Linked DNA regions of Homo sapiens: region 1 is linked to region 2. Evidence: promoter capture Hi-C in human tissues and cell types (Jung and others, 2019). All regions are on one chromosome and are shown on one strand. Each heading gives the region's core, a stretch centred on a gene start or on the middle of the fragment in contact. The rest is flanking DNA. Distances are from core to core; before and after follow the strand shown. Region 1 overlaps DLG1 (discs large MAGUK scaffold protein 1). Region 2 holds the start of NRROS (negative regulator of reactive oxygen species).

Region 1 (5,083 bases), core at 2,558-5,057, 550 kb after region 2:
GCAATCTAAACCACCAAAAGGAATCACTATTAACATCTTAATATGATATACAAAGAATATTCTTTTTTCCGTAATGTGTTTTCTTTTTCAGAGTGATAATATAATCTATAGAATTCTAGCCTAAACAATAGAGAAAGCTTAAGTTAGTAAACTAAATACGATTAGTTCAGTGGATTACTATGTAATTCAAAACATGATTATGAAAAATTTATGACTATGAGGAATATTTACAATATTAAATGGTAATAAAAAGTTAAAAATTTATACTGGATAGGCTCTCAATTATTTGTGTACGTTTCTAAAGTCACAAACCCAGCAGTCTTTAGGTACAGAAACAAAGGCAAATACTAAATAATCTTTTATTTGTTTGTTTTTGAGACGGAGTCTCACTACGTTGCCCAGGCTGGTCTTGAACTCCTTGGCTCAATCCATGCTCCTGCCTCAGCCACCCACGTAGCTGAGGTTACCACCATGCCCAGTTTACTAAATAATCTTAGTGAAAAATGTAAAAAGGTAAAGGACAAGAGGAAAAGCAATACTGAAACTCTAAAGTACAAAAAAAACCCACCAAAAACCCAAAGTAACTACAAAGCTAATGTAACGTAAATGCAATATAACAGGCATTTTTATTACTCTTTTCTAATGTGGGCTATTAAATTTCAAAACATACAACTGTATTGAGATAAGACAAGACTGAGAAGAGTGACAAGAACACAGATTTGCTATTTATCTAGAAAACCCTCAATGTCACACATACAAAATCCCTTCTGTATGAGCACCATCTAGTGGTCAGTGCATGCAAACTATATGCTCACCTTAGTATACCAGGTCCATGATAAAATTCAATCATGTTTCTATATGTTCCAGAGATGTAAAGATAAAGTTGATTTCAAAAACTGCTCATTATATACTAGAAACAGGAAAACTTCTATTCCTCTAGCATTTGGTTCAAAAGGCTTATATTTGCTTGTGTCCATTTTTCTGCCACTCCCATTTCTTACAATTTTTTAAAAACTACTAAGAGCTGCTAGTGATTTCATTATATTCTCAATACTACTGGATGAAATAAAATGCTAGGAAATATACTTATTTAGCACAATTATCTGCTCATTGACCCTGTTTTTTCTGTTTGATTTCAAGTCCCTCTTAGTAATGTTTACTTTGTATACAATAGTTTGAGCATAATTTTCCTTGCCATTGAAGACAAAAACCAAATATAAATTACTTGTTTCTTCAATGATCACTGCATCCTCCCATACACTCAATAATACTCCTACTGTCCTCCCTGTTGCTTCATGTACATTTCAAACTTTTTGGGAAAAGGCTGAGGTTTTTATTTGTTCGATTTACTGTTCTAACAATTTTTCCTAATTCTCAGCTCATTTTCAGTTTTAGAACCTTGACACTACTCTTACATAACCCCAAAATTTACCCACTGTGTCCTTCTCTTCGACATTAAGATTTTTAAAAAACTATTATATCCCCTATTTCTTTCTTGATATTCTTCCCAACACTGGCAAGAAAGTATCCCTTTCAGAGTCTTAAATTATAAAATCATAATTATCTTTATGCCAAGCCCTGAATAAAGTAACCCAATCACTATCTTACTTTACTCATTATTCCAGTAAGGAGAGCCACCACCATCCACTACCACCACCACCACCACCACAATAATCTAATAGATTAATTCACGGCATGTTTCATGGTGGCAAACCTTTCATAAGAACATTCATCATACAGGTCTTTTAGATTTTGCCCTCATTTCCTAACATGCACCCTAAGTATCAGCAATAATAACATAAACCTTCCTGCATTTCTACAGTTTCTTGTGATTGTCACCCTTCCACTGTATTTATTTACCCCAGTAACGGCCTCCTCCTCTGACTTGGCATCTTACACATCCTTCAACACTTTATGCAAATGTCAACTTGCTTTTTTCAGAAAACTCCAAGAATTTAATTTCTCCCTCTTTCATGTCACATCATACTGTGTTAACTATCTTTCCGTAAAAAAATACTAATCACTGATGTCTAACACAGTTACTAGCACAGATGTTTAATAACTGTTTGCTAAATGCATGTATTGCTTGACACAACTAATATCCTAGCAGTTGATTTTTAAAGCATCTATTAAATTTTATTTTTACCATTAGCTTTTATTAGAATTGTGAAGACTAAAGCTGTGCCTAATTTACAATCTACTCAGCAAACCACTGTTAATTCTAAGATACTTTTTCAAATTATAAAATAATAATTCATATACTGACTTCTACATGCAGCGTAACAGCTGTTCACTCCAAACCACAATACTATAAAAGAGGAAAAGCTCTCTATATTAGCTTTTATTTTAAAAAAGAGACTACTAGTCTAATACTTGACACTGTATTTTAAATAAATTGTTGAGCTTCTTATAACATTCTGGTTTTTTAAAAATTAAGATGAAAAAGCATTAAAGCTTGCCTTCTTATGTCAAAATAAGGGTTGTTTTCCTTCAATTCCGGTTTTCTAACAAAAAGTTAAAGGAACCCTACCTACTCTGCTATAATGCTCACCTGCTCCAAATCTATTACACCCCTCAAATAATTATTTTACGTGGCATCTGCCACAGTAACCTAGGAATGAAAGAGGGGAAGCAGGTAGAAATTCCCCAAACGAAACAGTCTTAATCATTCTTAAATTACAATTCTATCAGAATACAATCTGTCAGAAAGTTTCAAGAACTTGAGAAACGTTCATATTCTTCTGACTCAGTAATCTGACTTCTGGTAATCCATCCAAAGGAAAGAAACTAAATACTTTTCATGTCCAAAGATTACTCATTGCAGGTTTCTTTACAAAACCTAATAAAAATAGAGATAACAGATATCTGAGAGCTGACATGGTCATCAAATTATGGTGCAAATATATCAGGCAATATTATGTATCAAGTTTAAAGTTTTTAAAGTTTAAATTTTTAAAAACTTGATACATCATATTACACAGGAAATATACAAGAAAATATGTTTAACAAGTTTACAATAGGAAAAAACATTAACATATTAAAGTGTGATTTAGAAACAAATGATAGAGAATACACACAATTTTTTTCTGCTGGGATTGAAAATCCTTATCTACTCAGTTTGCAAATATGAATCAGACAGCCAGCAAACCAAAGTGAGGGAAAGGGGACTAGTGAGGGAAAGGGGACTAGTGGTTTCACTTAAGAACCCCAGAGGATGGTTTATAATTGTTTCAGAGACTGATCCTGTTAATACCTAACAAAAGAGAACAAGATGAACAAGGCAGAGCAAGAGAATGGCCCACAAAGATGGCCAGGTTTTCAGACGCTTCTCATAGAACCAGCTGAATGATTATCATAATATCCTAAGACTCAGGAAAGCATGCTGGTACTTTCTTGATCTTAACAAAACGTGTCAGGAAAGGTTTACATATGACTACACAAAGATCGCCACTCAGATAAGGCCATGACAAAATGCCAGCAACTGCAAGATTTCCACCAATTTCAGAAATGGTAAATGTGGAAAAGGTAAGTCTTAGAACTGATGATAAAGGACACTTTAATTAATAACATACTCCTTTAAGCCTCTATAAAATATTTCTTTAAAAAGCTGTGAGGGACATAATCCTTTATCATTGTCAGAATAAACAAAAAGCAAGTATATGTAAAGAAAAAGCAATTTAAAGCAGATACCAAAAAACTGACTTCTCATCTCTTATGGTCAGAAAATTAAGGAAGAAATGAATCAGATTAAGAAAGCAGTGAAAATCTTAAAGTATGAATGCTTTCTCTCTCAATACTATCAATTTAAGTCTCTCACTCTAGAAGGAGGATTCGACAAATGATGTCAGAAGTTTACTTGTAAATATTAATAGCTCAACACAGATAGCACAGTAGTGCAGGAAAATACCTCAAGCTTTGCATTCACGGGGGACTAGTTCCAGGACTAGTCCCCCGTGAATCCTCGCATACTGTACCCAAATCCTCACATACTGAAGTCCTGAAGTCAGCTATGCACTTACAGGAAGTCAGCCCTCTGTATACTTGGGTTTTGCATCCTACAAATACTTTTATGTTTGATTGCATTTGTTTGAAATCTGCATTTGTTTCATCCGCATATAAGTGGAGCAGTGCAGTTCCAACTCGTGTTGTTCAAGGGTCAACTATAGTAGCCGTAATAGTGGTGGCACAATGCTTCGCAACTGTGCCCGCACATTAGAAACACCTGGAGAACTTGTAAACCTCCCAAAGGCCAGTCTGCGTTCCAATTCACATCCCAAGATTGATCACCTTGCATTTAATTACAAGAATCATATACGGAGATGGCTGCTAAAAGGGTTTTGTCGGCCGGGCGCGGTGGCTCCCGCCTGTAATCCCAGCACTGTGGGAGGCCGAGGCGGGCGGATCACGAGGTCAGGAGATCGAGACCATCCTGGCTAACACGGTGAAACCCCGTCTCTACTAAAAATACAAAATATTAGCCAGGCGTGGTGGCGGGCGCCTGTAGTCCCAGCTACTCGGGAGGCTGGGGCAGGAGAATGGCGTGAACCCGGGAGGCGGAGCTTGCAGTGAGCCGAGATCGCGCCACTGCACTCCAGCCTGGGCGACAGAGCGAGACTTCAACTCAAACAAAACAAAACAAAACAACAACAGAAAGGGGGGTTTTGTCATATTAATCTTTGATTTACACAAAAAGTCTTCCCAATTATAATGAAGTAGGTTTTCACTGATGAAGGTAGTGGCTTATTAATCAGCAAAATGGGATTTCACTGGTGAAATCCATAGCATCCCAGTTATGTGAATTTTTTGAATTAATTTAGAGACATAATACACCCTTGCATAAGGGAAACGGAAGACTCTGGAGAGGCCTAAACCCTTAGGGATAACACCTTAGGTTTAATCCCTAAGACATCTGGAGACTCTGGGTAAACAAAATCTTGTGTCTGGAACATTGTTTTATCTGCTTAGAATGAGCATTTTAGGCAACAACGGAAAGCTGAGGTTTCATGAGATTTAAAGAATAGGCTACATAAAATATGCATGCTGGCTCACTGTTTAAATGTCTGCTTGTGTCATAATCTGCAAA
Region 2 (5,384 bases), core at 1,167-3,666:
AAAAAAAAAAAAAAAAAAGAAAGAAAAAGAATTAAAAAGAAAAAAAAAAGACCATTGGTTTACTAGATTTTTTTTTTAGGGGTAGCAGCTGCCTTTCTCAAAAGAAATTCTATAGAGAATCTCCCAATGTATAAAACATATCAAAGTAGAATTCTTGGGATGTGGAGGGAATGGGGTACCTGGATCCCACCTGCCAGTCTTTAGGCATTCATGAGGAACCCTTGAACCTGCTGAACCCTGTAAAAGGGCTTTAAGCAGAGAGTGAGATGACCCAATACACATTTTAGAAAGATGCCCGTGGCAGCTAGGTGGAGTTGACATTGGACAGGGATGAGATTAGGGGCAGGGAGCGAGTTTCAGGAGGCTATGAAAGTGGTCCAGACATGAGCTGATGAGGTCTAGACCCAGGGCAACAGCCTAAGGATGAAAAGCAGGTTGGATTCCAGAAACATTTCTGAGTTAGAATCAGCAGGAATTGGGGGTCAATTAGATATGAAGGATGAAGTCTGTGAGGGCTGGACTGCCTGGGCTGAAACATACCGTAAAGTGTGACAGCCATACAGGAGAGAAACTGCTGGGACAAAGGATAAGAGTTGAGTTTGGGGCCAGGCACAGTGGCTCATGCCTGTAATCCCAGGACTCTGAGACTGAGGTGGGCGGATCACCTGAGGTCAGGAGTTTGAGACCACCCTGGCCAACATGGTGAAATCCCATCTCTACTAAAAACACAAAAATTAGCTGGGCGTGGTGGTGGGCGCCTGTAATTCCAGCTACTTGGGAGGTTGAGGCAGGAGAATCACTTGAACCTGGGAGGCAGAGGTTGCAGTGAGCTGAGATTGCGCCACTGCTCCAGCCTGGGTGACAGAGCAAGACTGTCTCAAAAAAAAAGAGAGAGAGTTGAGTTTGGGATACATCATGTTATGGTGACTCTGGGACATGTAGCAGTTGATTGACCAGTAGACAGTTAAAAATGCAAGTCTGGATCTTCTCTCGTGGAAGAGAATGTTGGAGCTAGAAATTAAAATTGGGGAGTTACCAACTGATTGGTAGACACAAAAGACATGAAGTAGAGAATGTGCATACAAGAGAGAAAGAGGCCTGAATCAAGCACCTGGGTTTGCAACAATTTGATCTTTATTTAGCTTTTTCATTGGTGTGATTGTTATTACCATTATGAGATAATATTTTATTTTTAAAATTATTTTTATTTTTTTAAAGACGGAGTCACACTCTATCACACAGGCTGAAGTGCAATGGCGTGATCTTGGCTCACTGCAGCCTCAACCTCCCTGTGCTCAGGTGATCCTCCCACCTCAGCCTCCCAAATAGCTGGGACTACAGGTGCGTGCCACCAGGTCTGGCTAAGTTTTAAATTTTTTGTACATATGGAGTCTCAGTATGTTGCCCAGGCTGGTCTTGCACTCAGGCGGTCCACCTGCCTTGGTCTGCCAAAATGCTAGGATTACAAGCCTGAGCCTCTGTGCCCGGCCATGAGTGAATATTGTAGAAAGCAGAGACAATGTGCCAGATGTTTGGAGTGAAAAGGACTTGGCTCCTGTTCTCTTAGGATGGACAATGCTACACACAATCCCAAATCACAGGCTATAAGAGAGGTGACCCAATCCTGCAGGACAGTTCAACGTTTCAGATTTGAAGGGGAGTGAGAGAGATCAGAACTGGAGGCCCCTTGTCTGAGCCCCCGACTATGGTGGTCCACGTCACTCCACACGCAGCAGGCACTGTAAATATTTCACCTTCTCTAGACGACAGTAGTTCCTCGAGAACAGGAGCGCTGGGGTAATGCATATGAAGCTCTTAGCACAGTGTCTGGCGCTGCTTCAATGATGGCTATATGATCAATTATTCTTACTCCTTTGAATTCTTGGCAAGAGCTGGCAGGGAACTTTGTACACATCAGGTACAAAAAAACCCATCCGCGCAGTCTAAGATCAAGAAGCTCTTGGCACTCTCTGACAGTCCTCGACAAAGCAATTCCCCTTCTTTCTAACACAGGGTCCGTAAAGGAGATGATCCACAAGGACCGGCTGAGTGGATAAGAAGACAGACTGGCTGAGCGGCTGACCCTGCCAGACGACAGGCTGTGCCTCTTTACCACGGTGCTGCCGTTCCCAAAGTCGGCCTCAGCTTGGTCCTTGGCTGGAAGCTCGTAGCAAAGTTTCTGGGTCAGCAGACCTCATAGGCAAGGGGCCCCTAGCTGGCCGCCCCCAGCCCTGCCAAGGCACCAACGCAAGAAAGCCGGGGGAGCCTCGGTCGCATTGCTGGAAGATCGTCTAAACATCCCCGCTGCTCGGCCGCTAGGCCGGCAGGTGTTCGGGCCCCGCTCCCCCGGCCCGCCCCACCCCCGCGCCCGCGCCGCGCTTCCCTCTAAGAGGCCGGGTCTGAGTGAGCCTGTGCTGAGTCGCCGAGCAGCCCGCTCTCCATGTGACTTCAGTTTCCGTCCGTTCCTTCCGCTGGTGCTAAAATAATCTGATGCCCCACAGCAAGGAGGTAGCCCAGCCCCGCGTTCGGCTGCTCTCGAGGAGGCCGGAGCCCCCGGAGACGATGCGCCCCGCGCAGCCGCCTGCGCCTGCGGGAGCCGTGAGTATTTCCCGCGTGGGGGCGTCCCCGGGGCACAGCCGGGGCCCTTCTCCAGGTGGGCGAGCTCGAGCGAGGTTGGGTGGTAGGAGGTCAGCGTCCGCGGCCCGCAGCTCAGGGCTCACGAGGAAGCTGTGGCTTGCTGCGTCCAAGCGCCGCCGCTTTTGTGCTGGGCGTGGGGGCTGCAGCTCTGGGTGGAGGTGGAAATACCTCCCTCCAGGAGCACTTAGAGCTGAGAAAGGTGGTGCGACGTAGTGGAAACCACGAGGGCTTCAGATTCAGACGTGGGTTTGAGTCCTGGCTCTGCAGGGAGCATGTGAGCAGACAGTTAAGGTTTCTGAGCCTCAGTTTTCTCATCTGCAAAATGGGAACAGAGATGCTCCCTCCCTGGGCTGGGCGACTGGATATGATGAGACCGCTCTGTGCACACTCAGCATGCTGAGCACTGGGCTCTCCTTTCCTGTCCCACAACGTGGATTGAGAACCACTATCTCATAGATGAAGACACTAAGACTGGTTAACAGCAACACCTATCACAGATGCCGTCCACGTGCCAGGCCTGTCCAAGGCCCTGGGGATACAGCTGTGAAAATGTGCAAAGCCCCTTCTCCCACAGAACGTTTGTCCTTGGGAGATTCACTGGGGCTCTGTGACTTGGATCTTAGCCTAGACTTAGATCCATGGCTTATCAGAGGGAGACTAACAGGAGGGCGACGAAGACTCGGACGCTCTTCCGTAGCCCTCGTGGCCCCTGCATGTGGGCCGGCTTCTGAAGGGGTCAGCGTACTTCCCCACGTACCCAGGAGCTAGACGGAAAGAAGTAAGGAGCCACTGGTGTGGCTTTGTGCTGCCTCTGAGAGAAGGTGGACACGTGCCAGTTGGTGGCTGCGACTGGAGGAGGCCGGATCGGGGGTCCTAGGAATGGAGCCTCTCCGGACAGGGCTGGTCGGGGCTGCTGTGCTTCCCTAGGGGCTGAGGGGACCCCACCGGAGGCTTCTTCATGATGGGCACAGCCCGTTAGGAGTCTGGGTGCTAGAAACATTCAGCGTCTGTGGCCCTCCATGCTTTCCTGTGTGCTCCTCACCTGCCGGCTGTGACACACAGACTGTTCTGTGGATGCTGAGGGTTTGCTGGGCTTTACATTTACAATACGTATTTATTCTCCTCACACACCTCTTAGGTTTGTGTGTGTGTGCCCGAGAGTCCCTAAAGGAGATTATAGAATCATGGGCCCAGGAAAAAACCTTAACTCCTGCCTTTAGGTTAAAAAAACAAAACAAAACAAAACAAAACAAAACAAACTCAGCTTCACAAAGAAGGCACTTTTTAAAAATATATATATTTATTTATTTATTTTTAGAGACAGGCTCTTGCTCTGTTGCCCAGACTGGAGTTCTGTGGCACGATCACAGATCACTGCAGCCTCAAACTCTTGGGCTCAAATAATGCTCCTGCTTCAGTCACCTGAGGAGCTAGGACAACAGGTGCACACCACCATGCCAGCTAATTTTTAAAATTTTTTTGTAGACACAGGATCTTGCTGTGTTGCCCAGGCTGGTCTCAAACTCCTGGGCTCAAGCAATCCTCCTGCCTTGGCCTCCCAAAGTGCTGGGAGTGTGGGCGTGAGTCACCGCCCCCAGCTTTCATGTAATGAGTGCCCTCATGGGAACTTCATGAAAACACATTCTCTTATAGTTTTTAAATTCATCATCCAAGAGTTCCTGCTCTTTGATGATGAGACATACCTGGTAGACTCCAAAACAGAGAGCAGACGCCTAGTATCTTTGTTCTGGGGTGTGCATTAAGAGTACATTGACCTGTCTGTCTCCAGTCTTGACTCTTTTGGAAGAGAGATGCTAGTACTGATGACAACCTGCATTCTGGCTGCGGTGTGCGTCCACACTGCACAGTGTGCACCAGACTCTCGTATGGACAATGACTGTCCCTCACATCAGGCGCAGATCCATTTTAGAGCCTCAGAAGTCAGGAGAGGGTGGACTTTCAACCACGACTGAAAACACTGTCTTTCTTAGGACATGCTGTGTGTATGACACACTTACAGATGTCTGTGCTCACTGATGCTTGTTGATGTGTCATCGCACATCAGTGACAAACATTTGTCATGTTTTTGCCTTTGGTGGAACTTCTTTATTATACTCACTTTCCTCCCAAACCATTTTTCTCAACTTCATCATGAAGCAAATGTCATGTGGTCATTCTGTGATGGGGCTCAGGGCTAGGTTAGGTGATGATTTCTGAAAGCTCAGAGACGTGAAGGAAAAAGGACATCAGTGCTTGGATCTTAGCTCTTATAAGCCTCACGTGCAACAATAAACCCGAGTTCAAGAATCAGATTCTTAGATAGATTGGTTTGGTAGCAAATGACAAAAAACCAACGTAAATATGCTTCGGCAAAAAAGAAAAAAAAAAAGGATTTATTGTTTCAAATAACTGAAAAGTGTATGGGCAATAGTTTCAGGCATGGCTGAGTCCAGATGCTCAAATGGCATTGCCAGGAATCCATCTGTCTCCTTTCCTCAGCTTTGCCTTCCTCTCTGTGGGCCTCTTTACCAGGCAAGTCCCGGAGCTGGTGGCAAAGATGGCTGCCTGCAGCTCCAACTATATTCCTACTGGTTTGGCATCTGAAACAGAAAGAGCAAGTCTCCTTTCCATGAGTTCTAGCAACTGCCCGTGGATTGATTCTCATGGGCTTGGCTTTTATGATGAGCCTGTTAGGAAAATGGAGTGCTCTCACGGGCCCAGCCTTACTCATAGGCCCCGCCCTGGAA

Evidence for each region. The method cuts DNA at HindIII sites, captures the fragments that hold promoters and counts their contacts. A contact is called where the count stands out against the background at its distance.
Region 1: a contact is called between a fragment that was not itself captured here and the fragment with the promoter of NRROS in region 2, in 1 of the 25 tissues and cell types used here (lymphoblastoid cells).

What each region holds. Positions count from the first base shown.
Region 1 is chr3:197,186,387-197,191,469 of GRCh38, forward strand. The region is part of intron 5 of DLG1 (discs large MAGUK scaffold protein 1); the gene reads right to left. Among named protein-coding and RNA genes, the nearest start is that of MIR4797, 110 kb to the right of the region's middle. The HindIII fragment of the contact is 5,025 bases long and covers 1,296-5,083 here.
Region 2 is chr3:196,637,278-196,642,661 of GRCh38, forward strand. It overlaps NRROS (negative regulator of reactive oxygen species), which reads left to right and starts at 2,417. Exons shown (of 3, transcript NM_198565.3): 1 at 2,417-2,598. RefSeq lists silencers at 2,054-2,483, 2,504-2,603 and enhancers at 3,054-3,173, 4,342-4,691, 4,712-4,771. The HindIII fragment of the contact is 16,873 bases long and covers 1-5,384 here.